2 separate regions of the Homo sapiens genome follow, and region 1 is linked to region 2. The links are contacts of gene promoters, found by promoter capture Hi-C in blood cells and fetal thymus (Javierre and others, 2016). All regions are on one chromosome and are shown on one strand. Each heading gives the region's core, a stretch centred on a gene start or on the middle of the fragment in contact. The rest is flanking DNA. Distances are from core to core; before and after follow the strand shown.

Region 1 (4,964 bases), core at 1,862-4,361, 420 kb before region 2:
GTAAAAAGAATACCAACCAGATGTAAGTAGTACATAAAGTTTATTTCTAGCTGGACACAGTGGCTCCTGCCTATAATCCCAGCACTTTGGGAGGCCGAGGCGGGCAGATCACCTGAGGTCAGGAGTTCGAGACCAGTCTGGCCAACATGGTGACACCCTGTCTCCACTAAAATTTTGTATTTGTAAAAGTACAAAAATTAGGCTGGGCGCGGTGGCTCACGCCTGTAATCCCAGCACTTTGGGAGGCCGAGGCGGGTGGATCACGAGGTCAGGAGATCGAGACCATCCTGGCTAACACGGTGAAACCCCCCGTCTCTACTAAAAATACAAAAAATTAGCCGCGCGTGGTGGTGGGCACCTGTAGTCCCAGCTACTCGAGAGGCTGAGGCAGGAGAATGGCGTGGACCCGAGAGGCGGAACTTTCAGTGAGCCAAGATCGTGCCACTGCACTCCCGCCTGGGCGACAGAGCGAGTCTTCGTCACAAAAAAAAAAAAAAAAGAAAAGAAAAAAAAAATACAAAAATTAGCCAGGCGTGCTGGCACATGCCCATAATCCCAGCTACTCAGTAGGCTGAGGCAGGAGAATCACTTGAACCCAGGAGGCAGAGGTTGCAATGAGCCAGGATCGTGCCATTGCACTCCGGCCTGGGTGGCAGAGCAAGACTGTCTCAAAAAATAATAATAATAAAATACATTTAAAAATAAAGCTTAGGTGACAAAGCACATCAGCAGTTACGACAATGCAGAGTTGGTGGTGGGGCTGATTACAAACAGGAATGAGGAATAACTGGGTGATGGAAATGTTCAATTGTGGTTCTTATATGAGTGTATACATTTGTCAAAATGAATAAACACATACCCTTACAATAGACTAACCTTATTGTATGTAAATTATATAACAATTTAGTTAATTTTTAAAATCAGCAATTCTAATAGGTCTCATGTGAATCTTGATTCAAATTGTGAAGGAAAAGGTAGAATTTTTTAAAACTGAGAATATAAGGGAAATTGAATGCTATTTCGTATTAAGAAATTACTCTTGGGAGACCGAGGCAAGAGATCCCTTGAGGCCAGGAGTTCAAGACCACCCTGGGCAACCCCTTCGCTACAAAAAATAAAATAATTAACTGGGCATGGTAGTGCAAGCCTGTAATCTCAGCTACTTGGGAGGCTGAGAAGAGAGGATCACTTGAGCCTGGGAGTTTGAGGCTCATAGTGAGCTATGATCGTGCGCCCCTGCACTGAAGCCTGGGCAACAAGACCCCTATTCTTTAAAAAAAGAAAAATAGAAAAGAAATGAAACGAAATGAAATGAAACGAAAACTAAAGAAATTTACACAACTAGACACTGGAAAGGTTAGAGAAGAGGAATGTAGGGAGAGATTGGTTAATGAACAGAGAATTATACCTAGCCAGGAGGAATACATTCTAGTGTTTTATAGTACTGCAGGATGACTATTTTTTTGTTTTTGTTGTTCTTTGGAGCTTTATCAGGTTTTTGTTTGTTTAGAGAAGAGATTTAGCTCTGTCACTCAGGCTGGAATGCAGTGGCACAATCACAGCTTACTGCAGCCTGGACCTCCTGGGCTCAAACAATCCACTTGCCTCAGCCTCCCAAGTAGCTGAGACTACAGGTGCATTTCACCACACTCAACTAATTATTAATTAAACTTTTTGTAGAGATGGAGTCTTGCTGTGTTGCCCACACTGGTCACTAACTCCTGGCCTCAAGTGATCCTTCTGCCTCAGCCACCCAAAGCACTGGGATTACAGACATGAGTCACTGATCCTGGCTTTAGGATTACTATAGTTAATAATCTGACATTTTAGCTAGCAGAGGCTGGCCGGGCGTGGTGGCTCACACCTGTAATCCCAGCACTCTGGGAGGCCAAGTGGGTGGAATACCTGAGGTTAGGAGTTCGAGACCAGCCTGGCCAATCTGGTGAAACCCCATCTCTACTAAAATTCAAAAACTTAGCCGGGCATGGTGTTAGGCGCCTGTAATCCCAGCTACTTGAGACCCGCGGCAGGAGAATCACTTGAACCCGGGAGGCGGAGGTTGCAGTGAGCTGAAATCGCACCACTGCATTCCAGCCTGGGCAACAAGAGCAAGACTCCATCTCAAAAAAATAAATAAATAAAAGATAAATAAATAGCAGAGAGGATTTTGAATGTTCCCAACACAAAGAATGATAAATGCTTGAGATAACAATAATTACCCCAATTTGATCATTACACATCATATAAAGGTATTGAAATAGCATGCTGTACCCTATAAATATGTATAAGAATTACGTATGAATTTAAAATAACAAAAAACAGACCATGGCCAGGGGTAGCAGCTCACGCCTGTAATCACAGCACTTTGGGAGGCCAAGGCAAGATTTGCTTGGGCCCAGGTGTTTGAGACCAGCCTGGGCAACTTAGACAGAACCCACCGTTTTTCAATTAAAAAAAAAAAATGGAATGTAGTGACATTTTCCTGTAATCCTAGCACTTTGAGTGGCCAAGGTGGGCAGATGGCTTGAATTCAGGCGTTCAAGACCAGCCTGGATAACATGGCAAAACCCCATCTCTACAAAAAAAAGACAAAAATTAGCTGGGCATAATATCCCGTACCTACAGTCTTAGCTACTCAGGAAGCTGAGGTGGGCAGACAGCTTGAGCCCCAGGAGGTCAAGGCTGCAGTGAACCAGGAGCATGCCACTGCACTCCAGCCTGGGTGACAGAGTGAGACCCTGTCTCATAAATACGTAAACAAACAAAGCTGGACACAGTGGTGTGTGTCTCTAGTTCCAACTATTCAGGAGGCTGAGGTGAGAGGACTGTTTGAGCTCAAGAGTTCTAGGCCAGCCTGGGCAACACAGCAAGACCCCATCTTTAAAATTTTTAAATGCTAAATGGTTATTTTAATATATTTAAATATATACAGATAATATATAACACCTGGATTTACTTCAAGCTAATCCAGTGGGTGGGAGAGAGACAATGGATAAGGTAAGGTGAAAAAAAAAACTACCCATGAGTTGGTAAATGTTGACTGGGTGATGGGTACATAAGTGTTCACTGCCCATAAACTTTCCCATTTCTGCACATGACTCTAGATATCTAAAACTTTCTACAATGACCAGAGAACCAAAAACCAAGACCACATACCACATAGCCAGAAACAAGGGTGAAAATAAGAGAACAATAAAACAGAAGATTAAGATATTAGTTACAATAGGTAATACATTCAAGATATTAGATAAGCTGAAGAATTCCAGCAAAGTTATGAAGAATATTAAAAAAAGAATCAGGGAGACTGACTAAAGACACCTAGCATTCATCCTACACACAAGAAAGGACAAAGGTTAACAAATAAACAGCTAAGATCTGACAGGTGTGTCAGAGAGACCATCTGAGTGCAGTTGGGGAATGGAGACACACCTGTTGGTGACAAAGTCCAGGAAGGCAGTATGGAAGCATCCAGCCTCTGCAGCCCCATCTCCCCTCACCCAGATGGGATTTGCCTGCAGTCAGCAGGGACTTCCTGATGCAGGGAAAAAGTAAGCAGAAGATCCCTCACCAGCACTCCCATTACCACCACAAACACCTACACTCCTTACAAGTGGCGAATCGGCCAGGTGCGGTGGCTCATGCCTGTAATCCCAGCACTTTGAGGAGCTGAGGCAGGCGGATCACTTGAGGTCATGAGTTCAAGACCACCCTGGCCAAGAAGGTGAAACCCCATCTCTACTAAAAATATAAAAATTAGCCGGGCGTGGTGGTGGGTGCCTGTAATCCCAACTACTGAGGAGGCTGAGGCAGGAGAATCACTTGAACCCAGGAGGCAGAGGTTGCAGTGAACCAAGATCGTGCCACTGCACTCCAGCCTGGGCAACAGAGTAAGACTCCATCTCAAAAACTATAAATAAAATAAAAAGGAGAATCCCACAGTCCTTGCAAGCCCTGAGCCCAATTTAGACAACTGCTGGAAATCCATACAGCTGCACTGCCCAAATTAGGAGCACAAGGAATGTGCTCCCCAACCCCCACCTACCCCCAGTGAAACAAGCTGTGGCAGTGCAACACCATCTTGAAACCAGAGCCACCTCTGGAGTGCACCCTCTGGGGGCCAGTAGCCACTGCACCTCTGCAGCACTTCAGCTCCATCTTCATTACACCAAGGCCACACAGGTGAATGAATGCCACAACTATAGCTGCAACTTTGGTCCCGCACAGCAGGGAAAACCAACTCCCACAACCAGACCACACTTCAAGCCAAAGGAACAGTCTGACAGTCCCATCCAGGACAAACCTGCCCATAAGCCAACCAAGCCACTATAAGCTCTCTCCAAAGTAGTGGAGGCCCGCAAGCCAAAGAGCATGTGATACACCCCAAGGTTAGTGAAGCAGCCATGCACCCTTACTCAGTGCCTAAGAAAAAGGCTCCTAGCACCTCTGCCCCATGTAGACATGCTTCTGGCCTCCCGAACAGCCCTGCGCCCCCAATAAGGGCCTCAGAAACATTACCACAGGTCGTCCCTGATGGGCATCCCCCCAGGCCAGCCAGGCAGCCAAGAGCCCACATCCCAGTCCTAAGAAACAGCCCAATGGGCAACACCTGACAGACACATCTAGGCTGGCTGAGCAGTTGTGCACCTGTGTCCTAGACCTGAGAAACCATGGGCCACTCCTGCCAGGCACAACACCAAGCCAATTGAGCAACCACATGCCTGTGCTCCTGGCCAGAGTAACAGTCCTGTGGCTTCAACCCCAGCAAGCCAGACCCCAAGTTGGCCAACTCACCATATGCATACATGTGTCCCTGACTTGAGAAACAGCCCAATGAGCCAACCCCCCTGGCAAAGCTGCACCACACACTTCCTCATCCTAGGCTGCTGAGAAACTCTCAAATGTCACTAGTACAGATTACAGATGAAGAAACTACATTACTGTGTCCACACAGAACCAAGGCCAAC
Region 2 (4,720 bases), core at 1,390-3,889:
CCGCCTCCCGGGTTCAGGCAATTCTGCCTCAGCGCCCCCTAGTAGCTGGGATTACAGGCGCGTGCCACCACGTCCGGCTACTTTTTGTATTTTTAGTAGAGACCGGGTTTTGCCATGTTGGCCAGGCTGGCCTCAAACTCCTGACCTCAAGTGATCTACCTGCCTCAGCCTCCCAAAGTGCTGGGAGGAGTGAGATTTTAATTGCGAATTACAGAATACTGCGTTACCTGTGTCATCATCAGTCATATAACAGGATATGTGGACCAACATCTCTGACTAAGGCTAGATTCAAGGAACAGGCATCAGTGCCCAATATGGGCACTGCAAGGGGGGTGCGTGTGTATGCCAGAGCTGGGAGGGTGTATAGGGATGGTGCAGGGGTTGGGGGGTTGGGGGGCAGTGTGGGGTGGGATGAGTGGTCTGGCTTTGGCAAAACCAAAGAGCTGAAAGAGGCCTATTGTGATGGGTGGTTCTCAAATCAATCTTGTGGGTTAGGTATAATATTTGACTTTACTACATTTTATAGATAATAAGGTTAAGGCAAATTAACCTTTAAAAATCAAGATGGAGACCCAAGCCAACCAGTGAAGAAAGCAGAGCCTATTTCCTGCACTCTTCCTGCCTTCTTAATGCCTCTTCCCCCAGCCTGTGCCCCCTGGCTATCAGGCCCACTGTGGCAGCTTACCCAGCTTTACTTTTGGATCCCTCATGTGTGGTGGTCTCAGAACAGTACCAAACTCTTAAGACTTGGCTTCCTTTTTTTTTTTGTAGGATCCTGTCCTTTCCAAACTAGATTATTGTATAAACTGATCCCTCCTAAGGTAATAACAGTTTCTAACACAAATTTGCAGTTTAACAGGGCACTGTGGAAGCATATCTGCAACTTAGAAGTGACTGACTCCTTTACCACAGCAAGCCAAAGTTGAGTTTAATCTTTGGGAAGGCACACAAATGACACTCCCACTGGCAACTCATTTACATAGATTGCTCTTTAGAGGAGACACACATTCTTTCATTTGGTTCTCATAGAGCTGAGATGGGAAAAAAGAGACAATTATTATAGTTATTTTACAGATAAGGAAACTGAGGTTTAAGGAAATTATGTCCTAACACCACCTAGGAAGTGGCAGGGAATGGATCCTAATACAGAACTCTTCAATCCTTTTTCTCCATCACGTTGCCTTGTTGCCTACTGAAAATTGTGTTGAGGGGTAGCTTCATCATGAACAAAATCGGTCCTAGCACTCTGATCCTGGTTCATGTTCAGGGTCTCAGTCTGCCTTACTCTGGATAACTTCAAGTTGTTTGTCTGTTGGTGAAAGATTGGTCACAAAAGGTGTTGCTAAAGATGTTCTCATTAACAATTTTACTGTAGATTAAAGAGATCAGAATTCCAAAATATCCAGTGATTTCAGTTAGTCCTCAATCATAAGTTTGGTGTCTGAGAAGCTTTGGACACATGGTATTAGGAAATTTTTTCTATCTGCAGATTGCTAGTTTAAATTCAAGATTCCCATCTTTTTTTTTTTTTTTTTTTTTTGAGACTGGGTCTGAGATCTCAGCTCACTGCAACCCTCACCTCCCAAGTTCAAGCGATTCTCCTGCCTCAGCCTTCCGAGTAACTAGGATTACAGGGGCGCACCACCACGCCCGGCTAAATTTTGTATTTTTAGTACAGACGGGGTTTCACCATGTTGGTCAGGCTGGTCTCGAACTCCTGACCTCGTAACCCGCCCACCTCGGCCTCCCAAAGTGCTGGGATTATAGGCACGAGCCACCGCGCCCGGCCAAGATTCCCATCTTTTAAGTGAATTGAGCAGATGGCAGACCCTGCCCTCTACCTGCTGGACTGGTGTCCACAACAGATTTAACAATGAAAACTGATCAGTGAAAAGGCCGTCTCGCTGTACCCTAAAGAGCTGTTTAGGAAACACTGAAACCTCAGTGATTTGCTTATCTGTATCCGTGTCTGATTTAGCCAGTGAACACGTGATGGTTTTAAACACACATCTTTAGAGCACTATGTTGAGATCCGCTTATAACCAAGATCTTAAGGTAATAACGAAACACACCTGACAGAACAGTTTTCCTCAAATTACTATATATAGCCAGATATATCTCTATATATCCATTCCCGAGATGCTGGAGAGTAGAGAGTAAAATTCTATACTTTGCACTTGCCAGAAGCAGAGTAACATAAATGTTGTCTAGGAAGCTTTTACAACAGACTGGTGAAAATTAAAACACTTTTCAACGCCTCGATTTAGAGTAATTTTCGTGAGCGTAGAGAAGGGGCTGGGCCAGGACCACCAAGTAGGGACTATGTGCACAGGGACCCGCGTTTACCAGCCTGCCCTCAGCTGGGCGGGGAACCGGACAGCCCTCAGCCTGCACCCAGCCCATGCGAGGTCCCAGCCCAAGTCCCGCCCCAGTATTACCGATGCCCCAGCGGGCTGAGCCACTTTCTCCTCCTCTTCGTCCTCCAAGATCGCCTCCGCTGCCGCCAGGGCCTTTAAGGGGTCTTCGCGTTCGTACTGGGCGACCCGCGCTCCAGTGATGGGATTTACCGGGGTCTGGAGACTGGAGGCCACCAGCTTCGCCACTCGGTGGGAGGTGGCCATCGCCCCGCCTCCGAGGCCTGAGCGCCTGCGCTGGCCCGGGACGGGAAAGCTGGTGCGGCCCCTGGCAACCCGGGGGCGCCTAGCTAGGGAGCCGGTTGCTATGGGCGCCGTAACTGGGGACGCTACAGGAGCCGCCAGGGACCAAAAGTCACGCAAAATCCACTCAGGCTGCCAGAGACCCGAGTCGGGTGCTTACTGGATCATGGCAGTCAGTACCGAGTCTGTTGGCTGGTTCCGAAGGTTGGCAGGCTGAACAGGGCACTTATTCCACTCCTTTGCGTCTAACCGCCTGAACGCAGACTTCTCACATTATACAATGAAACAACTGCTTTTGTGAAGAAAAGAACGCTTTTTTATTAACTGCAATAACATGTTAGAAGGAGACAGTTGATGGAGGAGACGGCGGCGGCGGAGGAAAGCAGGGCGTGTTACTGGGTGGCGGTCTCAGAAGAGTGACAAGGTTGGCGTCCCGCTACCTAACATGTCTCCCGCGGGGGCCAGAGTGGGAAGGAGGGCGGTACATTCTACTCTGATTGACTTGAGGGCTAGCAGGAATCCACCAATCAGAAGGAGGCTCCCAGTTGTCCCTCTCGCTTTTTTCTTGACATGACCAATAAAAGCCCAGAGTTGGGTGGCGCCTGACCCTCCCACTAATGAGTGATAGTGCAGGTATTGTAAACCTGGCGTTTGCTTTGGGTTCTTCAGCTTGAGAGTGACAGGATTGAACGGCACAAGTGCCCAAGAGTCACCACAGACACATCCATCTCCCTCATCCGTATCTTCTCTTCCCACTCGGGATTTGGACGCATCAAATGGCGCCTTCCCTCTGCACCACGTGGCAGTAAGAGAAGCCAAACCTCAAAATAGCGGACGTGGTGCAGTCTCAGACATCTGCTCCCTGAGCCCCTGCTTACTGAGGCCGAGGCTGCCGCCCCCTATCTACTCCCTATCTACCCCCTCTCTATCCTTTGCCCTCCTCCTGCTCCCCAGCCCTACGACCGGCCCCCTCCGGTCAGTATTTTCCTCGTTATGCGCTGCACATCGTCGAGAACCCGTCTCTAAGGTCTGAGCCCTTACCAAACCTTTGTTCTCCTGTCTGGGTGTGAGCACCTACAAAGTCTCCTACGTCCCCACTTCCTTCAGGCTGCTCTTGGTTTTAGCTGAACAGTTGCTTCCCATGCTGGAACAGATGCTGACTGGGTTCTAAGCAGAAGCCAGAGCCAGAACCATGAGATATGCACCGCCAGGTGTGGCCAAGTTTCCAGGGGAGCAATTTCCAGTCAGACACGGCAGCCAGTTTTGTGGCTACAAAACTGCCTCAGCCTCCGGAGTAGCTGGGATTACAGGCGCACTCCCGGGAGGCGGAGGTTGCAGTGAGCCGGGATGGCGCCACTGCACTCCAGCCTGGGCAATAAAGCAAGACTCCGTCTCACCACCACCACCACCAACAAAAGTATTGATAAGGAATTATAGCAGATGAATTATAAATAATGAAATATCCTATTCTCTTTACTGTAAATTCCTCATAGACAATTGCTTCTCTCAGAATGCTTTCGTTGGTTTATGCTGTACTCCTGTATTTGTGGCCAACTTATGGTTGCAATTGTTTAACAACCTAGTTCCAACATGAATGTTGGTTAATATTTTTGTTTTTATTTGTGATTAAGATGAGAGTGACATATCCAAGATCTATGTCAGAATTTCACTTGTCAATGTTATGAGCAACTTCTTTGCTGAAATAGATAATCATTTTCTAACACTGGAATAATTTTTCTTAATTTTTTCTGCAAGTCACAATGTAAAGGCTACAGATAACACAAACTTTTAAGTTTACTCTGCATTAATATTTTCCACATCCGTTTCTTAAGTTTAAATGTCCAATGTTTAGCTTTTGCTGATTTCCATGATGTCAATATTCCCATCATAGCCAATTTCAAGCCACCAATGTGACATCACTTAATAAGAATTTGAGAAAAGATGTCTAGTAGCACACCATTATATAGTATTTCCACCATACAGATACAGTAGATGCAAGGAACATAAAAGAAAGTGAAGAGTTTTAAGAAATTATCTTTGTTTTTGACATAATTTATTGTAAT

Evidence for each region. The method cuts DNA at HindIII sites, captures the fragments that hold promoters and counts their contacts. A CHiCAGO score of 5 or more calls a contact.
Region 1: a fragment that was not itself captured here is called in contact with the fragment with the promoter of FAM161A in region 2 in 2 of 17 cell types (M1 macrophages and naive CD4 T cells); the score reaches 5.5 in M1 macrophages.

Annotation. Positions count from the first base shown.
Region 1 is chr2:61,429,732-61,434,695 of GRCh38, forward strand. All of the region lies in intron 1 of USP34 (ubiquitin specific peptidase 34), which reads right to left. Among named protein-coding and RNA genes, the nearest start is that of SNORA70B, 15 kb to the left of the region's middle. RefSeq lists a silencer at 309-503. The HindIII fragment of the contact is 4,812 bases long and covers 706-4,964 here.
Region 2 is chr2:61,851,421-61,856,140 of GRCh38, forward strand. FAM161A (FAM161 centrosomal protein A) reads right to left here and starts at 2,640. Exons shown (of 7, transcript NM_001201543.2): 1 at 2,439-2,640. The coding sequence starts at 2,621. RefSeq lists enhancers at 2,124-2,253, 2,414-2,573, 2,814-3,043, 3,784-3,833. The HindIII fragment of the contact is 5,666 bases long and covers 2,214-4,720 here.